Regions from separate parts of the Homo sapiens genome. Here region 1 is linked to region 2. Evidence: promoter capture Hi-C in 16 types of primary human blood cells and fetal thymus (Javierre and others, 2016). All regions are on one chromosome and are shown on one strand. The core of a region is centred on a gene start or on the middle of the fragment in contact, and the rest is flanking DNA. Distances in the headings are between cores, read along the strand shown. Region 1 overlaps PLEKHG1 (pleckstrin homology and RhoGEF domain containing G1). Region 2 holds the start of PLEKHG1 (pleckstrin homology and RhoGEF domain containing G1).

What was found. The method cuts DNA at HindIII sites, captures the fragments that hold promoters and counts their contacts. A CHiCAGO score of 5 or more calls a contact.
Region 1: a contact is called between a fragment that was not itself captured here and the fragment with the promoter of PLEKHG1 in region 2, in 2 of 17 cell types (total B cells and naive B cells). The highest score is 6.1, in total B cells.

The regions. Positions count from the first base shown.
Region 1 is chr6:150,645,228-150,650,584 of GRCh38, forward strand. All of the region lies in intron 1 of PLEKHG1 (pleckstrin homology and RhoGEF domain containing G1), which reads left to right. Among named protein-coding and RNA genes, the nearest start is that of PLEKHG1, 48 kb to the left of the region's middle. The HindIII fragment of the contact is 564 bases long and covers 3,494-4,057 here.
Region 2 is chr6:150,596,905-150,602,224 of GRCh38, forward strand. PLEKHG1 (pleckstrin homology and RhoGEF domain containing G1) reads left to right here and starts at 2,981. Exons shown (of 17, transcript NM_001029884.3): 1 at 2,981-3,113. RefSeq lists silencers at 2,469-2,528, 2,709-3,003, 2,799-3,278, 3,489-3,658. The HindIII fragment of the contact is 1,307 bases long and covers 2,562-3,868 here.

The DNA of each region.
Region 1 (5,357 bases), core at 2,526-5,025, 49 kb after region 2:
AATTAGTAAATGACTCTGGGGTAATTGGTTATCCTTATGGAAAAAATGAAAATGCATCCTTGCCTCACACCATATACAGTCATCAATTTCAACTGGATCGAGGACTTACATGTGAAATTACAAAGTGTTTAAAAGAAATATATAAGAATATTTTCATGTCCTTGGGATAGGAAAAGAATTTCTTAAACAAGACAAAAATCTTTAAACCATAGACATATGTAACTGCATTATATTTAAGATCCTCTGTTGAGAGTGAAGATAAATCATAATCCATAACAGACCTATGGATTTATATATTGAAGAATATATGAAGAACTCCAACAAATTCATAAGCAGAAGACAATTCAGTAGAAAATGGGCAAAATGCATGAACAGATTTTTCACAGGGAAGGAAACATAGATGCATATGAAAATATGCTCAACCTCAGTAATTAGGAAAATGCAAATTTAAACCATAATAATACCATTTCACACCCATGAGAATAGCTATAATTACAATTGTGTAGCACCAAGTGTTGGCCATAGTGTAGTGTAGAGCCAGTGGAACTCTTATACACTATGGGTGGAGTGTAAATTGGTACAATCCTTGAAAAACTTTAGAATTACCAGTAAAGTTCACCATGTGTATGATGAACAGCCTAACACTTTCAATTCAGATAAATACAATGTAGAATCTCCAGCACATGAATACAGAAGAAATGTACAACATTGCTTTTAGTAGGAATAAAACCCAAACTGGATACATATAGTCTACAGGTCTAAACACCAGAGCATATAAATATACCACAAGTTATTCAATAACATACTATCCACCAGTACAAACAGTTGAACTACATAATTAGCAAAATGACACGGGTATATCTCACACAATATTGAATGGGAGAAAGCAAGTTACAATCGTGTATGTACAAGCCTGTTTTACAGTTCAAAAGCACACAAAATTTGTCAGAATGGGGTTTCTACATGTTGGCTTATCCTTGAACCCTACGTGTTTGCAGGATGGCTGCAGCAGCTCTCCCCTCTCTTGTTCTTATCTAATAGTGGGAAAAGTTCTGTTTTATTCTTCATAAAACCCAAAAATTAGGTCTCGGTGGCCCTGATTGGTCTGGTGTGGGCCATGTGCCAATCCATGAACTAATCACAGTAATTAGGGGGATGAAACATGATGAATGGCTTAGCCTAATTAATGTCATTCAGAGCACATGGGCTGGGAGTAGGGCAAGGGAGAGGAAAATGTTGGTGCGAATGCCAGAAGGAGGGTAGATGGATGTCAGGCTTCAAAACCAACAGATGATGTTATTCCACCCACTTCATAGAAGCCAGTTTGTATTACACAGGCCATTGTTACTTGCTGATGTCTATGAATGAAATGAAACAGCTCAAAGAAGGGCAGGTAGAAGCAAGAAAGGGGTTTTTATGTTGCAGTGGATGTAGAGTCACAGGTTACCTAGCTGACATTCCCAGATTGGAATGGACAAATGTGATGTGGCTCTCCAAGATGACAGGTAGGGGCAGCAGCAAGAATCTATTCCAAATAGTGATTCTTTTGAGATTTACGTGATCAGATTTTATATCCCCTCAAAAATATTCCCTTTCTTTTCATGTACTTGACCATCTTCGTTACGGACTTAAATCATATTTTCTGGAAATTCATGGGAGGAACATTGGTAGATTTACCCTTTTGGCATTATTACAATTCGACACTGATCTGAAGTCCTGTCATTTCTGGTAGCCCCTTATATGGATTTCTCCCCTCACTTTGTTTCCTTGTTTCTTTTACAAAGTTCATGTGTTTTACTCAAGAAACAACATATTTTGTGCTTACGAACAAATTTATTGGGCTCCTATATATCAAATAATTGACATTTTAGGGAAAATTTTTATGCTTTGGGTCTTTGTGTAGTCAGTATCGTATATAGAAGTATTATCAGACATGACTTTAAATCATTCCTTGTTTAAGCCATGCCTAACTCAGACCATTAAAAGCCACTTTACCTAGTCACATAGAATAACAATGGCCTTTTATTTTGTCCTGCATATAAAAAGCAAGATTGGTCTCTTTCGTGGGTAATTGTTGTTAACATTCATTCTGGAATAATACAGTTGATCCACAGTTATTGTCAGGGACACATAGCTTTGAGTCTGTTGTCTAAAATTAAAGGTAAGCCTATTTTAGACACTGTAGTTAAAAGGACATGGTGATAGGTTGGTCTCCTTTTTACAAAATCAACCCTGACATTTTATTTATTTTTATGCTCAAATCACGAGTTGTGTTTTGCCTATGTAACTTATTTTAAACATCACCTTGCTTATAGTGTAGACTATAAGTTTAGCATTGTTCTTTGGCCAAAAGCAATAAAATATGACCTGTTTCACCGTGATTCAGTGAAGTGCAGTCAGCATTTTCTTTTCACAAATATAACACTGATGGCTATTTTTAACACTTCCCCAACCTTCAGAAGTGTAATGAAGTTTTGTTTTGACGTAAAATTCTAATTGGATTTTATGTCCTGAGTATAATATATTAGTGGATGTTGTACTTAAGGCCAGACAATCAAATATTCTTAATTTTTTAAAAAATCCTATTTTGAATTTATAGAACAGCCTCTGAGGTTCTCAAGTATTCACCTATAAATAAACATTGCTGATTGTAAAAGCCCTCTTGCTGTTCTCATATTCCTATAATAACTGAAATTATAAACTCATTGGTTTACCTCATATTGAATTTCCTGACTAGATGATGCTTTTTTCTTTTTTTAAAAAAGTACATTTGCATTTTTCATCATTTCTCATGAGGGAATCATTGTCTAAAGATTTCTTTAAATGTCTTCTATATAGATTCTTTAAGCATTATTTTTCTGAATATGATCTATTTTCAGACTGTCTTCATTTTAATTTGTTTGTGACTCATCATTTCTGCCACTGGATAAAAACCAGTGCTTTTTAAATAATTTGTTTTAAATGATCTTAACCTTTACTATTTCTAATAGGTTTTAAAAAGATATTTCTTTTATGGTATCTTTCTAGGTATTCAACCTCGTCACCTGCTGATGGGGATAATTTGGCTGTTTATTTTCTTTCACTGTTGCACAGTGAGACTTTCATTCCTGACTTTTAATAAAAATGTCTATTGATTTCAGGTCTTCTTAAAAATCATGGCAAACTATCCTATTTCTCCATACACTGAGAGATGACCATATGTAGGTGCTGAGTTTACCCCATGCCATTTTGTCATCTTTGAAGATAAGAATAAGTGTTGATCTTTTGTGACCTATTGATAGGGCATAATGGATCTATTTATATAATATTTATAGAATAAACCTTATTTATGGAGATGTGTTGTATACTAGAAATTGAGTTTTCTGAGCACTTTATTGAGGGTTCTTACATCTTATCTAAGTCAAACATGCCTCTTCCTTTTCTCTCTTTGTACCTTATCAGATTTGTGCTGGCTTTATCAAATTGGGGAGCCTCATTTTCCCTCTATCTTGAAAGCTTTTCATATAGTTTGGGAATTATCTAATCCTTGAGGTAAACTGTATGTATTAGTTGTTTAGCCTTTATATTTTTGGTTCAGTGTTGATAATTAAATATCACCTTATAAAACTGTTTCCAATGAAATGTTTGAATTTATTCACAAGGATATTTTTATATAGTATTCATGATTTTTTTCATCTTTTCTGTTTCTGTGATATAGTCCTCTAATAATTCTAGTTTTTGGTTGGATGTTAAGACCAAATTTGTCAGAAATCTGCCCATGAAGTATTTCATTCTGCAATGAACCACCTACTTGTTTTTAAATATTTAAATCACAGAATCCTGCTTTTTTTTTAATTTGTCTTGCCTATATCATATTTATTTCAGACTTAACTGAGCTTAAACATTTAATTTCTTTATTCTCTTCAATGAAAAAGTACTCGTGTTACAAATGAAACTGCATTGTTTTTACTCCTCCTATGCAGAATAAAATTAGCTAATTTTCATTATCCCCACTCATTTCCCCATTTTTGATCATATGAGCTAGGATTTCAGACCTAGGTGGAGCTAATTATAGTAAAGCTTTTTATTAAGTTTTTTTGTTTTTCAAAAATTTTGGAATCCGGCACTCTAGTTGGGCTATTTTTATAATAATAATAATTAGCACATTCTGTGCCTGCCTTTAATGTTCCCCACCAGTGCTATTGTGTATCTACCTTTTCACTCTGAAGTTTTTCTTTTGATTCATCCCTCAATCAACTGGAATATATTCGAGTAACTTTTCTTCATGAAGATACCCAGCTGAGAAATTTCTAGGCACTTTTTTTTAATTTTAAAACTCTGCAAATGTTGAAATGTCTGCGGTTCTTTCTTTTTAAAAACAGTGACCAGGCTGGACGCGGTGGCTTATGCCTGTAATCCCAGCACTTTGGGAGGCCGAGGCGGGCAGATCACCTAAGGTCAGGAGTTCGAGACCAGCCTGGCCAACATGGTGAAACCCTGTCGCTACTAAAAATACAAAAAATGGCCAGGCGCGGTGGCTCATGGCTGTAATCCCAGCACTTTGGGAGGCCGAGGCGGGCGGATCACAAGGTCAGGAGATCGAGACCATCCTGGCTAACACAGTGAAACCCTGTCTCTACTAAAAATACAAAAAAATTAGCCGGGCGTGGCGGCGTGTGCCTGTAGTCCCAGCTGCTGGGGAGGCTGAGGCAGCAGAATGGCGTGAGCCTGGGAGGCGGAGCTTGCAGTAAGCCGAGATGGCGCCACTGCACTCCAGCCTGGGCGACAGAGCGGGACTCCGTCTCAAAAAAATAAATAAATAAAAATAAAGACGAGAGCAAAACTTTGTCTCAAAAAAAAAAAAAAAGAAAGAAAAAAAAAACCAAAACAGTGACCAGAAAAACTGCAGCCCCAAATTTCACCAGATGTAAGCCTCACCCCAATGAGCTCGACCCCTCAACTCTCTTGCACTGATGGAAAGTGAGAAGAACTCAGAGAAGAGTGGCTGTGGCCTTAGGCAATTGTTGGAGGACTTGTGTTTTGGAGCTAGGGATGCTGCGGTGGAGAAGGATTGAAATCAGAGCCTCTCCTTCCATTCCCTGCTTCATGGCCTCGCGTTTTCTCTCTCCTTTGTTGGGGGAAATTCTTCCTGGTTTCTGGCAAGTCACTGAACTCCTCTGTTTACAGAGCTATTGTATGTTCAAGTCTCCTTTTGAATTATCTGAGTATTATTTCAAGGGAAAGGGAAAATCAAGGATGATAGGACTTCAGTAACTTTCTAATACCACATCCTGTGAATTTTTTCATTTTTTAATTAAATGTTTATGATTACTGCTATAGGCCTATTACAGTCCAGTAGCATGATATGGCCTTTTCCT
Region 2 (5,320 bases), core at 1,731-4,230:
GTGTGCCATGGTGGTTTGTTTCACCATCAGCCCATCACTTAGGACGTTCAGTCATCTTAAAAAGCAAGAACTTCTCTTCTACAGAAATCTAATTGATAGACCCACTTTTACTTGAGAAGGAAAAGGTATAATTTGAGGGTGGGCTAAGCCTGGGCCTGTTGCCCTCAGCCTCTTCTTGTGAAGAGAATCACTCAGAATCACAGGGTTATGGGGATGGGTGGGGGAACACTCCTTCAGGCTGTGTCTTCTGAATTCCTCTGTCTAGGAGTGGTAGTGACTTTCTGTTGCTGTTAATTTCTGGGCTGCCTCACTGTCTCTTTTTGGATTCTTGATTCTTCCATCACTTGTAGAGCCAATTTCCTGCATTAAAGTCCCTCTTTTATAAATACTTGAACTGGGTTCTGTTCCCTTTGTTTGACATTGACTGATAGAGCAGTATTAGAAAGACCACTCGCCAAAAGAATTTTCCCAATGCTGGATGCACCATTAGAAAGCCATTCCATTGGGTCCTTTTCCTTAAAGTGGAAGAGTAGACTCTTACTAACAGAATGCTACAGCATCTTCACAACTCTTATGTTGTCCGTTCATCCATCCAACAATCCACACACTGAATATCGTATACCTATTGTGTGTTAGGAGCTGAACTAAGTGCTGGACACACAAACCAGACCCACAATGTGTCAGGCCAGGTGATTTCAAGGAGCTCAAATTCTAAAGATCTAAAGGGCAGAGTTCATTTGCCTGGAAATCAGGAATGATCACAGGACTTAGGTGCTTAGTGCTATACTTGGCATACAGTCTCAACAAAAGAAATTTCTTGTTCCTGTTTCCACTTTCTACCTCCCACCTCATTAATAAACTGAGGTGAAGTGAGCGGGCTGGCCAGGAAATATTATAACCATCCCATAAGCACAGTACCAAATTCAGAAGAGCTATCTGCCTAAGGGTGAGTGCTCTTGAGCAGCAGCATCTGCAGCTGATCCAGTCTTTTCATCAGATCATAGTGCTTCATCCACAGCTTCATTCGAAGCACTTGTGCTAAGAAATGCATAACTGAGGCCAGGCATGGTGGCTCACTCCTGTAATCCCAGTGTTTTGGGAGGCAGAGGCTGGAGGATTGCCTGAGGCCAGAAGTTCGAGGCCAGCCTGGGTAACATAGCGTGACCCCGGTCTCTACAAAAAAAAAATGGTAAGTAAGCCCGGCATGGTGGTGCATACCTGTAGTTCCAGCAACCCAGGAGGCTGAGGCCAGAGGATTTCTTGAGCCCAGGAGTTCCAGGCTACAATGAGCTATGATTGGTGCCACCGCACTCCAGCCTGGGTAACAGAGCGAGATCCCGTCTCAATCAATCAATCAATAAAAGAGGAGACAGCAGAGAACAGGAATCCCCAATTCTCCTCCCTTCCTTTCCAAGTTGTCGGAAACCCTTATCTCTCAGCCACAGACACACTCATCAATGAGCTTCTTTGAATCCTAGATGCTTTGAGTGTCAAATAAAGGCTGGCACCTACCTCACAGGGTTGATGGAAACCATTAATGTGGTACTATTTCACAAACATACTGCACACTTCTAACACAAATCACAACATAGAGAGATGGGGTAACAGGCATGATTTTGTGTGAGCTCCAGAAGCTGGGCAGGGTCTTAATTAAGCTCAGTTTCCTGTCTGTGAAAGGCGACTAGCACCTGTCCTGTCAACCTCACAAGGTTATCGCAAGGCCAACTGAAACAATGCTTTGAAGATGGCAAATGTCTGTTTTAGTCCCATTGCAAATCTACCGTGGTAAATGTATTCCAAGCATAACCCAGTCCCATAGTTTTAGGTAATACAAGTCAGTTGTGGAGACTCAAATTATAAAACAGAACATAAACTCCACGTGGTAGAGAACTGTGATGCTGTGTAGCCTTACTGCACAAACCTTGTTTTGTTCCCAGTCTTTATGATAATTTCCATAATCATGTATATGCATAAAAGCAGATAAAAGGCAAAAATCAACAAGAATAGCTAACATTTATTCAGGCTGTAGAGCATGTGCCAGACAGTCTCCTAAGCCCTTCACGCACATTCTCTTATTTAAATCACATACAGCAACTCTATGAGGTAGGCACTATCATCATCATCATCATCATCATCTCCATTTTACAGATGAGGAAACAGACAGAACACAGAGAGGTTAAAGCGTTCTCTCAAGGCCACACAGCTAGCAAGTGGTAAGGCTGAAGGTCTGTTAACAACTAAGAGTGCAATCAAATCCACCACCAAACCTAAGGGGGTCCACAGGCGACCCTGATACGTCCGACTTTGGCGGGAGATTAGTGTTAAGAAATGACTTCACATGCCTTTAACTGTCGCTGCAGGCACCTTTGATTGGAGTCATAACTTTACTGCAGAGCCGGTGCCTTTAAACATCTCTCTGGCTGTCACCGGTTATTCTTTACCTCCGTTTCCACTTTTACTTTCTCTAGGCAAAGGTCGTTTGGTGCTTTAACCGAGGTGATTAGGGTAATGACGCCTGAAGAACACCGGGCTTCCCCCTCTTTTCACTTGATTACCGGCAAAGCTTCTATGTAAAACTAGAATGTTCACTAAAACCATGATTTTGGGTATTATTTTAAAGGACTCACATAGGAAATTATTACGTCCAAAGGAAAGCTAAACCTGAAGAGCTAGGAAAATGAAAAAAAGTGATGTGTCTGCGAAAACAGTAGCAGAATTAAAAAAAAAAAAAACTTTATTCCCCCCGAAGCTGTAATTTGACTGTTCTCTTTGGCAAGGCTCCAGAGACAAGGCCAAGTGCCTAATTTCTCTTTCTCTTCGCCCCCCTCCTCTCCACCTTTTTCACCCTCAGGGCAGAGGGGAGGCGGGACGAGCGATCCACTGCTCCGGCCGCCGAAGCTGGCGTCTGGGCGCGGGGAGGGGCGGGCCGGGGCGCGGCCGAGCAGTGGGGCCGAGCCCGAGGAAGAGGAAGTCGGAGCCCGAGCCTGAGCCCGAGCCCGAGCCCGACGGCGGCTGCAGGGCGCTCCGGCAGCCCGAGCCGGCGCAGCGCAGCCCGCACCCTCCCCGCCCGACCTGCGAGCGCCGCCCGGGCATGCGAAGCCGTCCCTCCCCGGGTAAGCGCCGGTCGGGCCCGGACGCCCTGGGGACTTTTCCAGGGATGGGAGGGGGGACCCGGGGACCTCCGGCGGGAGCCCCACATCCGCAGGTGGGGCCGGGCGGAGCGTGGTACCCGGGCCCCGCCGGCCCCCTGCGCGCCCCTCCGCAGTGGGGACGGAGGGCCTTGGGGGGCGCCGAGCGGTGGGGACAGAGGGCGCCGGGGGCACCGCGCGGTGGGGACGGAGGGCGCTGGGGGGCGCCGCGTCTCGGGGGTCGGAGTCGGGTCGGGGATGCTGCCCGCCGCCGCCCCGCTTGGGGTTCCGCGCCCCCAAGTTCCCGGTGCTCCCGCCCCTCGCCCCAGCGGCTGCAACATCAGCGCGCAGAGGAGTTTCTGCGAGCACCCGGGAGTTGTAGCCACCGCTTCCCCACCCCCGACTCAGCAGGACAGCCCCAGAACGGGACCCCACAGCCAGTCAGCTGGGTCAGCTCCCCAGCAGCGAAGCCGGGAGCCCGAGGACCCGGGGACGCGCGGTGGGGGCGGCGGCCGAGCTGCTGCGGCGCTCAGGGCTTGGGGGCGCCCCCGTTCTGCAGATGCGCTTTTCAGGGGGTGGGGAGTCAAGAGCCTGTGGCTCTTCCGTCACGGGGTAAACGGTAACACCTGGGCGGCCGCGACTCTGCGAGCGTTCTGGCCTCGGCGGGCGGCGGGGAACCGCAGTGATGCCCGAGCTCGCCCCTTTTGTGTCCTCGCGGTGAGCCCCGTTCCGAAGCCGGAAGCTTGGGAACGCTCTAACTGGGAGAACGGCGCTCGGCTGGTCAATTCATTCCGCTCCTCGGAAACAATGAGCTGGATCCTTGACTTGAATGTGCTGGCGGAGCGGGGTTTGTAAGCCGGCGTTTCATCCAGCTCTGGTCCTCAAGGCGCCCTTTGTACCACCCGCAGGTGGCCGAGGCTACTGCACGTATTTTCGAAATCACCGAGTGTGGGTGTTTGGGGCAGGTATCACCCCGCGAGGACCATCTCAGACTGAGAGTTGGTTTAGGAGTTTTGAACAGATTGGATACAGAACTATATTGTGTTTTGTATTTAGACCGGGGGAAAGACTAGAATGTTAACTCTAGGGTCCAGTTTGTCATCTAACAGAATTCCGGGCTTGGGTAGGTCCTGTAATGCGGTACAATAACAACCAGGTGTTAAAACCGGCATCTTCTGGATTCTCAGATTCTGTAGACAGCATACTTCTAAAAAATGTAGAGATTTTGGATTTTGATTAAATTGCTGTTAAAAACATTTCCAAGCCCATCATTTCAGGAGATCAGAAAATTTTCGAACTTTAATTTTGCCCTGTGGGACCCTGGGCAAGATACTTGCCTCTGGTCGTCTTGGCTGCCTCCCTTATAAAGCAGTGCACACGAACCAGATAGCTTCTACGGCCTCCTGCTCATTCCTCATCCCCCTCCCAAACCCCTACCCCCTGTAATTTGGTCTACAATATTTAAGACAGAGAGAAAAGTAACGGGTTGATGTTTGACTCTCTCAGCATTTTGAGTCTGGCTTCCCAATTCCTGACTTGACTTTTTGTCTCATTTGAGGTCCCAATTCTAAGCCACCAAACCACCTGACTAAAGAAACTTTTTTCTTCAGAGTGCTCCCACCTCCCTGGCTTCATCCTCAAATAGGTCATCAGTAGCAGTCCACAGTCAACAGCAATGGCTGCACGACCTTCCCCATCCTTGTGTAGCAGCCCCCCAAGTCCTCTGCTAAAGGGCAAAGCAAAGTGAGAAACAGTTACCTGGCAATCAGATGCCAGATAACTGCCCCGATTCTGCTCGTCCTTGGTGGCATTTTCCTGCTTCCCCTACTCTAAATGGGCACCCTGAATTAGGGGCACCAGCTTCCTTCAATGCCTTTAATATAGGTGACTGTCACCGAATACAGGCTTAAATATTTCAGTGGGGGATTCAGGCTGTAGTTCAAAGAAGTTAAATGATCATTTTTAAAACAATAGGAAGTGGCAACATAATTTTTCAAAACCAAGAATAACCAGTCCTATGTTGTGTTCCCCCTTTGCGGATATGATTTTTCAGTGATTTAATTAAGATCGAATGGTTCATAGTCTGTCCCATAAATATGGGAAATGCTTGAGTAGCACTAAATCTCTTGAGCCCTTCGTCAACCAAAAGCAATTCCTGAAGCTATTATCTTAATGGCGGCCGTTCACTTTTT